Linked DNA regions of Homo sapiens: regions 2 and 3 are each linked to region 1. Evidence: promoter capture Hi-C in human tissues and cell types (Jung and others, 2019). All regions are on one chromosome and are shown on one strand. The core of a region is centred on a gene start or on the middle of the fragment in contact, and the rest is flanking DNA. Distances in the headings are between cores, read along the strand shown. Region 1 holds the start of IER3IP1 (immediate early response 3 interacting protein 1). Region 2 overlaps SMAD2 (SMAD family member 2). Region 3 overlaps SMAD2 (SMAD family member 2).

The links. Contacts are between HindIII fragments. The study calls those that stand out against the background at their distance.
Region 2: a fragment that was not itself captured here is called in contact with the fragment with the promoter of IER3IP1 in region 1 in 1 of the 25 tissues and cell types used here (lymphoblastoid cells).
Region 3: a fragment that was not itself captured here is called in contact with the fragment with the promoter of IER3IP1 in region 1 in 1 of the 25 tissues and cell types used here (lymphoblastoid cells).

What each region holds. Positions count from the first base shown.
Region 1 is chr18:47,173,922-47,177,761 of GRCh38, reverse strand. IER3IP1 (immediate early response 3 interacting protein 1) reads left to right here and starts at 1,398. Exons shown (of 3, transcript NM_016097.5): 1 at 1,398-1,575. The coding sequence starts at 1,485. RefSeq lists enhancers at 1,230-1,359, 1,370-1,489. The HindIII fragment of the contact is 11,428 bases long and covers 1-3,840 here.
Region 2 is chr18:47,812,119-47,815,934 of GRCh38, reverse strand. SMAD2 (SMAD family member 2) reads left to right here. Exons shown (of 11, transcript NM_005901.6): 11 at 1-3,816. Among named protein-coding and RNA genes, the nearest start is that of SMAD2, 120 kb to the left of the region's middle. The HindIII fragment of the contact is 3,563 bases long and covers 281-3,816 here.
Region 3 is chr18:47,894,710-47,898,695 of GRCh38, reverse strand. SMAD2 (SMAD family member 2) reads left to right here. Exons shown (of 11, transcript NM_005901.6): 2 at 1,887-2,175. The coding sequence starts at 1,940. Among named protein-coding and RNA genes, the nearest start is that of SMAD2, 34 kb to the left of the region's middle. RefSeq lists a silencer at 2,751-2,951. The HindIII fragment of the contact is 3,988 bases long and covers 232-3,986 here.

The sequences.
Region 1 (3,840 bases), core at 149-2,648:
GTCTTGGCATACCCTTTTCATTGGTTTTTTGCCTGCTTTATATCCTGGCCACTCCAGCAGCTGATTAGATGGTGCCCACTTGGATTAAGAGTGGACCTGTCTTTCCCAGCCCACTGACTCAAATGTTAATCTCCTTTGGCAACACCCTCACAGACACACCCAGGATCAATACTTTGCATCCTTCAATCCAATCAAGTTGACACTCAGTCTTAACCATCACATACAGCTAAGCAGGAGGCTAAGGCAGGAGGACTGCTCGAGCCAGGAGCTGAAGGCTGCATTGAGCTATGATGGTGCCACTGCACTCCAGCCTGGGCAACAGAGCAAGACCCTGTTCCTGGGGGGGGAAAAAAAAAAAGAAGAGGCTCAGAGGATCTTGGTTGGAGTTTGGTCAAGGAGGGGATGTTTCTCACTGAGTAATTTTAAAACAGTTATTTTGTTTTAGCATTCTGAAATCTGAAATGGGAATATTAGTATCTCCTGTATCTCCTGGGAGCATCAAGTGCAGTACTGAGCAATAGAAATATAATGCAAGCGTCACATGTCATTTACAGTATCTTCATAACCACATTAAATAAAATAATTAAAAATAAACAAGAAACCTTCCTCCCTTCCTTCCTTCTTTCCTCTTGCTCTGTCACCCAGGCTGGATCTCGGCTCACTGCAGTCTCTGCCTCCCGGGTTCAAGTGATTCTCTTCTCTCAGCCTCCTGAGTAGCTGGGATTACAGGAGCCCACCATCACACCCAGCTAATTTTTGTATTTTCAGTAGAGACAGGGTTTTGCCATGTTGGCCAGACTGGTCTCGAACTCTTGACCTTAGGTGATTTGCCCGCCTCGGTTTCCCAAAGTGCTAGAATTACAGGCGTGAGCCACTGCGCCCGGCCTCAAAATATTTTCATTTCAACATGTTATCAACATTTAAAAATTATTGGGAGGCCGAGGAGGGGGGAATCACGAGGTCAGGAGATTGAGACCATCCTGGCTAACACGGTGAAACCCCGTCTCTACTAAAAATACAAAAAATTAGCCGGGCGTGGTGGCGGGCACCTGTAGTCCCAGCTACTTGGGAGGCTGAGGCAGGAGAATGGCGTGAACCCGGGAGTCGGAGCTTGCAGTGAGCCGAGATCGTGCCACTGCACTCCAGTTTGGGCGACAGGGCCAGACTCCATCTCAAAAAAAAAAAAATTATTGGGATATTCTTCATCCTTGTTCCAGTTCCAAGTGTGTGAAATCCGGTGTGTATTTTGCACCTGCAGCACTGGCCACATCAGAGCATTGATTGCACATCACCGGTCTAGACAAGCGGCAGGACTTGCAGTCTTCAGCGAGGGGCGGTTCTTAGCCAGATGGAGGCGGGGCTTCCCGGAGAGTTCGTTTTGGGCCCCATCGGCTTCCGTAGGAAGGCGCCGGCCGTGGAGGCGCCACGTCCCTTGCGGCGGCGGGAGAGAAATCGCTTGGACTTCGGGGCGGCCTCGGACGGCCATGGCCTTTACCCTGTACTCACTGCTGCAGGCAGCCCTGCTCTGCGTCAACGCCATCGCAGTGCTGCACGAGGAGCGATTCCTCAAGAACAGTGAGTGGGACCGCGGGGCGCGGGCTGGGGCGGCGGCGGAGTCCCCGGGGGCGCGTAACCTAATGGGGCCGCGTGAGGGGACACCAAGGGCCGGGACAGAAGAACAGCGGAAGGCTCGGCTTGGAGTGGAAGCCGAGCCTTTCCTCTCATCAGGTTTGGGCTCAACAGCCGGGAGAATATTCAACAGACACCCGCTGTGCAGGGCCCAGGGGGTTGGGGTGGAGGGATATAGAAGTCAGTCAGGGACGCCTCTGCTTGCGATTACTTCAGGTCAGTAATTTAATTCAGTTTTCTGTGACTACTTTTTTTTTTGAGGGGGAGTCTCGCTCTTTTGCCCAGGCTGAAGTGCAGTGTCGCGGTCCTGTGACTACTTTTAATAGTCGAAAACCCGGGGTCTGAGTTTCGGGCTAAGAGTTGGGGGTGTGGGGCCGGGCGCGGTGGCTCCCGCCTGTAATCCCAGCACTTTGGCAGGCCGAGGCCGGCGGATCATGATGTCAGGAGTTTGGGACCAGCCTGGCCAACATGGTAAAACCCCGTCTCTACTAAAAATACAAAGATTAGCCGGACGTGGTGGTGGAAATACAAAAATTAGCCGGGCGGGAGGCTGAGGCAGGAGAATCACTTAAACCTGGGAGGCAGAGGTTGCAGTGAGCCGAGATTGCGCCATTGCACTCCAGCCTGGGCAATAGAGTGAGACTCCGTCTAACAAAACAAAACAAACAAAACAAAACGAGTTGGGTGTGGAGGGGAAGGAGGCGTGACCCATTTTGGAGCATCAGTAGTTCACTAACTGATGGAAGGCAATAAGTGTTCCTGGGCTTTAGGAATTACAGGAAGGGAACGTGTTGGAGTTATCAGGACATTCAGACACTCATGTTCCAAGAAAAGTTTATTCAGATAGCTTATTGGGTGCATAGAGTGTGCCAAAAACTCTGCTAGAATTTAGAAATTCAAAAATGAAAACACAAGTTATACCTTCCAGGACCTCACGTTGTGTACCAAGTATGCCCGTTTGAATCACTGAAACGTAAACCCAGGAGCAAGATTGATTCATTTCATTTACTTCAGAAGATATTTATTGAGTGCAAAGTATGTGCCAGGCCCATTTATAGTAACTGAAGTTACAGCAGCTACTCTGCCCTTCTGATGGAAGTTAATCTAAATAAAAACTAAACAAATGACAATAACAAGTATAGAGAGTATTATGTAAGAGAAGTACGGGCAGATACTAACTTGTGTATCTGCGAAAGCTTCTTGGAGGAAGCGTGTCTAACCTGAAATCTGATACATGAGTAAACATTAACTCGGTGAAGGTGAAGGGTTGGGAGGAGCTGGAAGGGTGAGGAGAGCTTTAAGCAGTGTAGACCTGGTGTGAAAACTGAGGCAGGTGAGAAGAGGGTCTTAAGACAGCGACATGACCAGATTTGTGTTATTTGCAAGATCCTTGAGGCTACAATACGGAGGAAAGATTGGAAGGGAAAGCAGTGGATGTGGGAAGACCCATTTTTTTTTTTTTTTGAGACGGAGTCTCACCCTGTCCCCCCGGCTGGAGTGCAGTGGCGCAATCTCGGTTCACTGCATCCTCCGCCTCCCAGGTTCAAGCGATTCTCCTGCCTCAGCTTCCCGAATGGCTGGGATTACAGGCACGCACCACCAAGCCTGGCTAATTTTTGTATTTGTAGTAGAAATGGGGTTTCACCATGTTGGTCAGGCTGGTCTCGAACTCCTGACCTCGTGATCTGCCCACCTCGGCCTCCCAAGGAAGAACAATTCTAAATAGGGCAAGTAGATACAAGTGGGTATGACAACAATAATAATAGCTAATACTTACGTAGCACTTACGTACAGGATCTGTATCAAGTGCCTTACATATATTAACTGGTGTAGCCTTCACAGCAACTCTATGAGAGAGTTTCTGTTTTCCAGTGGAAAACTAGAATCACAAAGAGAGTAGGTGGCTTTTGTAAGAACACACAGGTAGAAAGTAGAAAGTGGTGGAGCTAGGATTCAAATGTCATCTTCCAGAGTTCATCTGTTCACCGCTATCCAGAAAAGTAGAAGGGATCAAGTTGGGGTTTGAATTGTGTCCCTCAAAAAGATGTGTTGAAGTCCCAACCCTTGATACCTATGAAGGTGACCTTGTTTGGAAACAGAGTCTTTGCAGATATAATCAAGTTAAGATGAGATCATACTGGGTTAGATTGAGGGCTTTAGAGCCAATGACTGGTGCCCTTATAAGAAAAGAGAGATTTGGAGACACACAGA
Region 2 (3,816 bases), core at 813-3,312, 640 kb before region 1:
GGTAAGTCTGCAAGGCTTCTCTAGAACTCATACATAGGTCAATTATTCCTCCTCTGAAAACTTAAACTCTGGCACCACTAGCTTTTTCCTACAGCATACATGGGCTCAGTAAATCCTCTGTTAAGACAACAGGAAAATTAAGACAATGTCCTTGCAAGCCCCATAACTACTTTCTATCCCTGCTATTCACAGCCAAGTGTGTCGAGACCAGTTCACACAAACCTTGTTGATTTTCGGTTTCACCCCCTCCTTACTAAATCACCCCTCCATTTGCTGCAGTTGCCCTTGCGTGCTGTACTCAGACTTGGAGGAAGTGATGTCTTATTCAAGGCCAGTTTTTGTACTAGTGGTTAAATAAATGGTTTCCAAATTGGAGTCAGAAGGAGAGCTTCTAAAATGTAGGTTCCCTGGCCTCAATTGTGAGATTCTGCTTTAGCAGGTCTGGAATTGGAGCACTGGGATCTGCATTTTCAGAAAACCCAAAATGATTATCAGCCAGGACTTAAACCTCTGCTTTAGACCACATTCCCTGTGGGCTTTCAGATTTTCTATCAATGTTCTTCCCTCTTCCCAGCTCCCACACATTAAAACTCAGATCATGCAGAAAAGAAGTTACAGTTCCTTCATTTCACATCAATTTCTCATGCATCCCATCTGGTTTTGGGAAGGTGTGGGACGAGGTGGATGGCCTTAAACTTGCCAATCAAAGATAACGTTCTCTTTCGATTCAAATAGCCTATCTCAGGCTTAAAACCATCTCTTTGGATAAATGCTCAGCTTTTCAAAGGTTCTTCCTAGCTTCTTCCTCATGATGGCATCTAGTGGGTGAGAACAGTCATCTCCAGGTGACACAGGAAAGAGTTTCTCTAATGTATGTGCTGAGGTCCTTGACGGTCCTGCTGCTGGTGCTCATCCTGCCATCTTTGCTGGATGTCACTGAGTCTACTGGGTAATGTAAGTGGGTCCCTGGCTTTTGTTCACTGCTGTCATGCCCTGCTCCTGACCACAACTCTGTCATTGCCTTTGGTCTCAAGGTCTCTACCTTAATAGCTTCCATGTCCCAACTATGGGACTGTTAATCTGCTGGGCTTTGGAGTGGGTGGGAAGGGATGATGTTGGAACTTTGGGATGTACTGAACATCTTGCTCAAGCTTTGGGAAGCCAACATTTTCTCAGACTGACTAGACACCTCCTTCCACCAATGCTGAGCTAGTGCTCCTGTGCCATACTGGGTAAGCCTCTAAGTCATGAGTAGGACTTTTTTGAGTGGCTTGCAGTCTTCCCCAGGCTATGCCAGGAAAGTAGTTGACTAACCCTGCTGCTCCAAGACTCGCATACCCATCCTGAAGTTTCCGTTTATTTCCCAACAGGGCAATTGCAATCTCAATCAATCTCTCCCTGCCCTGGGAGTCATTCCACTCCTGCCTAATGAAGAGACTCTTCTCACATCGTATTCTCAGTTTCTCTTATCCATGGTTAGGAGTAAAACTCATGTTCAGTTGTCCAAGCTTTGCTTTTAGTATGTGAATGGAGCTCTTAGCATGTAGAACTCCCTTCTCATTCTCAGTAAAGTCTGACTTTGAAGACTACTTATCATCTTCCTAGAGATGCCAAAGAATAATCAAGATAATAAAGGCAGGCTCTGAGATTCACAGCTGAGTAGCAACTGTGCTGTTACTCTAGTACACACCCTCTCCTTTCCTGTGACTGTCAGGCTTCAGGGCTTACCTTTATTGGAAAGACAGCAGGGGGGCATATATGAAGAAAATGGAATCTTTAATATTGTCAAAGTCTTGACCCAATAGAGACATTCTTGCCCCAGACTCTCTTGCTTCAGTGCCTTTGCCTGTTCTGGTCCTAAGTACCTTGAATATCCTTCTCTTGATGCCCTGATATAAAACTCTTTATTCCTCAAAGCCAAGTTCAGGTTATCACCTCCACCACAGACTTTTCTTTCCCTCCCCAAACTTCATTGCCTCTTCTCATCACTCCCTTTGTAATTTGTTTATACTGGTAAGAGAGCATTCATCATAATTAGGCCTATCTATGCCTACCTTTCTTGTTAAATTATGAGCTTTGTTCTGCCTTGGATATCTCTCTGGCTTGGATATCTCTCTGGCCTTTGCTCTGCACTTCCAAATGTATCCATTATTCAAGACCCAGGTTTCCAGCCTGATCAACATAGCAAGATCCCATCTCTCCAAAAAAAAAAAAAAAAAAAAATTGTGGGGCCGGGTACAGTGGCTCATGCCTGTAATCCCAGCACTTTGGGAGGCCGAGGCAGGTGGATCATGAGGTCACGAGTTTGAGACCAGTCTGGCCAACATAGTGAAACCCCATCTGTACTAAAAATGCAGAAAATTAGCCGGGTGTGGTGGTGTGTGCCTGTAATCCCAGCTACTCGGGAGGCTGAGGCAGGAGAATCGCATGAACCCGGGAGGCAGAGGTTGCAGTGAGCCGAGATTGCGCCACTGCACTCCAGCCTGGGTGACATTGCAAGACTCCATCTCAAAAAAAAAAAAAAAAAAAATTAGCTGGGCATGGTGGCAGGCACCTGTAGTCCCAGCTACTTGAGAGGCTGAGGTGGGAGGATTGCTTGAGCCCAGGAAGTCGAGGCTTCATGAGCCATGTTTGTGCTACTGCACTCTAGCCTGGATGACAAAGTGAGATCCTTTTCTAAAAATAAGGACCCAGTTTATTTTATTTAGTTATTTAGTTATTTTTGAGACCAAGTTTCATCACTCAGGCTGGAGTGCAATGGCACAGTCTTGACTCACTGCAACCTCTGCCTCCTGGATTCAAGCAATTCTTCTGCCTCAGCCTCTTGAGTAGCTGGGATTGCAGGTGCCCGCCACCACACCTGGCTAATTTTTGTATTTTTGGTAGAGACAGGGTTTCACTATGTTGGCCAGGCTGGTCTCAAACTCCTGACCTCAGGTGATCCACCTGCCTTGGTCTCCCAAACTGCTGGGATTACAGGTGTGAGTCACCCTGCCTGGCCAGAACCCAGTTTAAATTCCATCCTCTCTGCAGAGTCTTCCTTAACCACCCCTATTGAAAGTTACCCCTGCTTCCTACAAGAAGTGGTACTTGGATGTTCATGAGATACCTGTGCAAGGCTCCTGTGGGGGTCCTGGGGAGACAGTGACATGGACACTCATGAAAGGAACCTTGGAATAGCGAGTGTGTGTGCTATAAAATGTGCTTTAGATTTGATTACCACCACTTAAGTTATGAGCTCTGATATGGTTTGGGTCTCCATCCCCACCCAAATCTCATCTTGAATTGTAATCCCTACATGTTGAGGGAAGGAAGTAATTGTATTATGGGGGTGGTTCTCCCATGCTGTTCTCATGATAGTGAATTCTCACAGGATCTGATGGTTTTATAAATGGTAGTTTTTCCTGTACTTTCACACACTCACACTCTCTTCTGCCACCTTGTGAAGAAGGTGCCTGCTTCCCCTTCTGCCATAATTGTAAGTTTCCTGAGGCCTCCCCAGCTGTATTAGTCTGATCTCACGCGGCTAATAAAGAGATACCGGAGACTGGGTAATTTATAAAAGAGGTTTAATTGACTCACAGTTTTACATGGCTGGGGAGGCCTCACAATTATGGCAGAAGGTGAAGGGGGAGCAAGACACATCTTACATGGCATCAGGCGAGAGAGCTTGTGTAGGGGAACTCCCCTTTATAAAACCATCAGATCTCGTGAGACTTATTCACTATTACAAGAGCAGCACGGGAAAGACCCACCCCCATGATTCAGTTACCTCTCACTGGGTCCCTCACATAATATGGGGAATTATGGGAGCTC
Region 3 (3,986 bases), core at 976-3,475, 720 kb before region 1:
CATCCTGAGAAGAGGGAATATTTAAAAAAAAAAATTATTCTTCCATGTGGTGCAAACCAAAATAATGGAATTATGGAGAGGTTAGAGCAGGAATGCAGTTTGTGTACATTGGAAATGAATCTTAGCATATAATCTATGAAAATTAGCCATGTTCTTTGATGGGAAATAAATTTGCATCTTGTGTTAGGATCTTCTTTAACGTTAAGAATATGTGCAAAGTGTGCTTAAAAACTGTTTTTTTCCTTTAAAAATGTTTTATCCAGTTTTTTGTACACACATACACAAAAACATACACAATGGCCATATCATTCAGCCTTTTTCATCTTTTCACCCCCTTTTCTGCATATTGGTATATCTGCAACCCATATTAATATCCTAGATTTTTGTTTATACACGTATAATCCAGTTACTAGTTGTAACACGTGGCACATTGCCAGATTACTTAGAATAAAGCTGTCACATTTGACCTTTTCACCAGCAATGTGGAATGATAACAATTTCTTCACATCTTCTCCAGCAGTAGGTATTTTAATTAATTCAATTTTTGCCAGCTAGATTGGGCATGAAATGATGCCTTATTATTATTTTAACTTGTACTTCCTCCTCTACGTTTAAAAACTATTGTCTGATCATTATGATAATTAAGGAACAAACTAATGAAAATGTAAGCATCATTGTTTTCTTAAAGATACACTTTGAAAACTACAATTTCAGTATTTGGGGTGTGTGATGTAAAGACTACAGACCTCTTTACTTTCTAAAAAGGATGCCTTTTGGGAACTTTATTAAATATGGCAAATTGAACACATTCATTTTCCTTTTTCCTATATCTCACTAAAATTGAAGGCAAAGGAAAGAAAAGCGTAAGAGCTAAGATATTAAGAGCTTCTGGAGCGAAACAATTTTTAAACCCCAATTAAAGGATCAGGAATAAAAGTTATGTGGGACTTACCAGTATCAGTAGTGGAGTCTAGAAAATTGAGGGGACAGTGCTTTCTAAATTCTGTGTGAACTGATAAGGAATGACCTACAGGGAATTAAGCAAAAAAATAAAAATAAAAAAATAATTTCAAGATATACAAAATAAGGAATATTATGCTACTTTTGTACAGCAATAAGGTGGGAATGTGGTTAGTTGTATGTATACATGTTTATATTTGTAAAATGACGCTGAATAGACAAAACAGCTTAATAAAAATGATTCCTATGGAAGAGAAAAGACAAGGTACAATTCCTTAAATTGGGAAGAGAAACTATCTGACTTTACTCACTATGCAAATTGTTATTTAGATGAAAATGAAAAAAACATGTGTTAAAAAATTTCTCTCAAGAGCAGGTGAAACCGGACTACAGCTTTTCTCCACGGACTCTGTTTGCCATGTTTATTTCTTTATTCTTGATTACTTCACACTTTACGCATTTTCCCTTCTTGTAACTGTAGATTTTGCCTCCTATTAGTTATGAAAGTTTAAAACCCGGGGGAGAGTGGGCTTACAAATTTTCAATGTATTTTTGTATAGTCTTTTGAGATTAGAGTGAAGTTCTAAAAAGTAAGAGAACCTTTTGTGAAAATATTTTAATTGACACTACTAAGAGTTTAAAATAGTATTGGTGGTGAAAAATCGTTAAAAGTATCTGATTTTACTTGCAAAATTACTGTATTTTCCCACAAGAGGAGTCCTTACAACATTCTTGTTTTTAGAAGGGTTTGTTTCCATCATTCATTTAAATTCATAAAGATAACGTTTTCATGGGTGGAGAAGTCTATTGGGAAAGTCATAATTCGAATTTCTATCTTGCTTTGCAGTTTGCTTTCTATGATAAGTTGAAATTATTACTTGATGTTCAAGGTAGTCTCTACATCATCCTTTCAATATTTCTGCTAGGTTCGATACAAGAGGCTGTTTTCCTAGCGTGGCTTGCTGCCTTTGGTAAGAACATGTCGTCCATCTTGCCATTCACGCCGCCAGTTGTGAAGAGACTGCTGGGATGGAAGAAGTCAGCTGGTGGGTCTGGAGGAGCAGGCGGAGGAGAGCAGAATGGGCAGGAAGAAAAGTGGTGTGAGAAAGCAGTGAAAAGTCTGGTGAAGAAGCTAAAGAAAACAGGACGATTAGATGAGCTTGAGAAAGCCATCACCACTCAAAACTGTAATACTAAATGTGTTACCATACCAAGGTAAGTTTTGTTAGATCCCAGGTTTGATCAAATTATGTCAAGGAATCTGAAGGAAAGTTACTGAATTTGTGTTCCTTTCAAGTTGCCTGTAAAAAGTGATGATTGAAATATGACTGTTTTTAACCTTGTATAAATTGTTTTTGCTAGCTGACTTGTTTTATAAATTATTTTCTTGAATAGTGAGGTTTAATCAAGCTAAATAAGATACTTAGATTTATTATCTTCATTGCCTACATTTGTATGTTATCCTCATTTCCGTGATTGAATGATACTTGAATAAAGAATTGAAGCTTTTTCTATCACTAACATAGTAGCAACCTACAGTTTTCTCCTCCTTTAGTCAAAACTTTCATCAGGGGTGAAAAGAGGCTGCTCACTTTTTAATGAATTTTATATGGTTTTTCTTTGCGTTGCAGCATTGCTTCCAAGAAAGAATAGTGTGTTAGGTGGCTTCTTAATTGTTGTAGGCATTAGTCAGAACCTGTCTTAAAGACCTGCCTCTTAGGTTAGGAGGACCTGTTACTTTAAAAGTCTGAAGTTTTCTGAGGATAAATTTAATCATTTACAGATAAGTACCACTGTCATAAGTATTGTTTTTTAATTAAGTGACAGGTGTTTTAAAGTGTGTTTTACTACTTGTGTACATTACAGATTTTGGGGAGATTGTTAAATGTAAGAATTCTCTAAAATGATAGTTTGCAGTGTCATACCGTGGGCTAGCATATAGCATGTGAAACCATTCTACTTGACTTTGAACTTTGAGAAGTACACTTTTGATGCTTATAGATAACAGATCCCAATAACACCAGTGCAGCCTGTCTAGTTGCAAATACTAACAGTAGAATGTTTCTTGCCTTGTTTGGTAGACCATCCATTTCTTTCCCTTACTTGTTTTATGTATATCTTAAAGGTTGCTTTTTTGGTTTGTTGATTTGTTTTACAAATGCTTATTGAGTGTTTGCTATGTAGAAGGCACTGTTTCTAGACATATGAGGATAACAGTGATTAACAAAACACAAAACTCCTGCCTTCCTAAGGGATAGAAATACACGATAAACAAGTAAACAAATTAATTATAATTTGATATGGTAATGAGTGCAAAGAAGACAACCAAATGCAGTGATATGATAGAATGAAGAATTAAAAAGCTGCTTTGGGTCGGATTGTGATGCTTGCGTGGAGCTTGGAGAAGCAGCAGCCAACTGAGGGAAGAGTCTTCTAGGCAGAGGGAAGAGCCAGAGTGAAGACACTGAGGTGAGCTTCTTGTATTAGAATATTTAAAAGGAGCCCAGTGTAGATGGAGGACAAGACTTGCCCAAAGCTTATACAGGGCATCCTAGAGTGTGGTGAGAGTTTGAATGTTAGTCTGAATATAACAGGATGCAAGTAAGTTTATTCTGATGGATTTTAAAGAGGATCTTACATATTTTTACAAAGATTTTTCTGGCTGCGGGAGAGTGGTATGTGTGTAGTAGGGTAGATGGAAGCAGGAAAATTAGGAGGCTGTGAGGAATCTAAATGCAAGACGATAGAGGCTGGACTGGCGTGGTGGCTGTGCTAGCACACGAAGTAAACAGATTTGGCATGGGTTTTAGAAGTGGAACTGAGGACTTCCTGGTGAATGGGCTGAGAAGTCAAGCTATATTTCATTCTTCATTGTGTAGTGCTTGGGATTTCAATTAGGTAACCATTTATCATATGCCCACTATGTGCCTGGTGTGCTCTTCCTCACTGGAGTTAAGATACAGTGTTTGCTTTTAAACTACTTACTTCCTAGTAAGGGAGATAAACTTAGAAAAAGATGGTTTCAT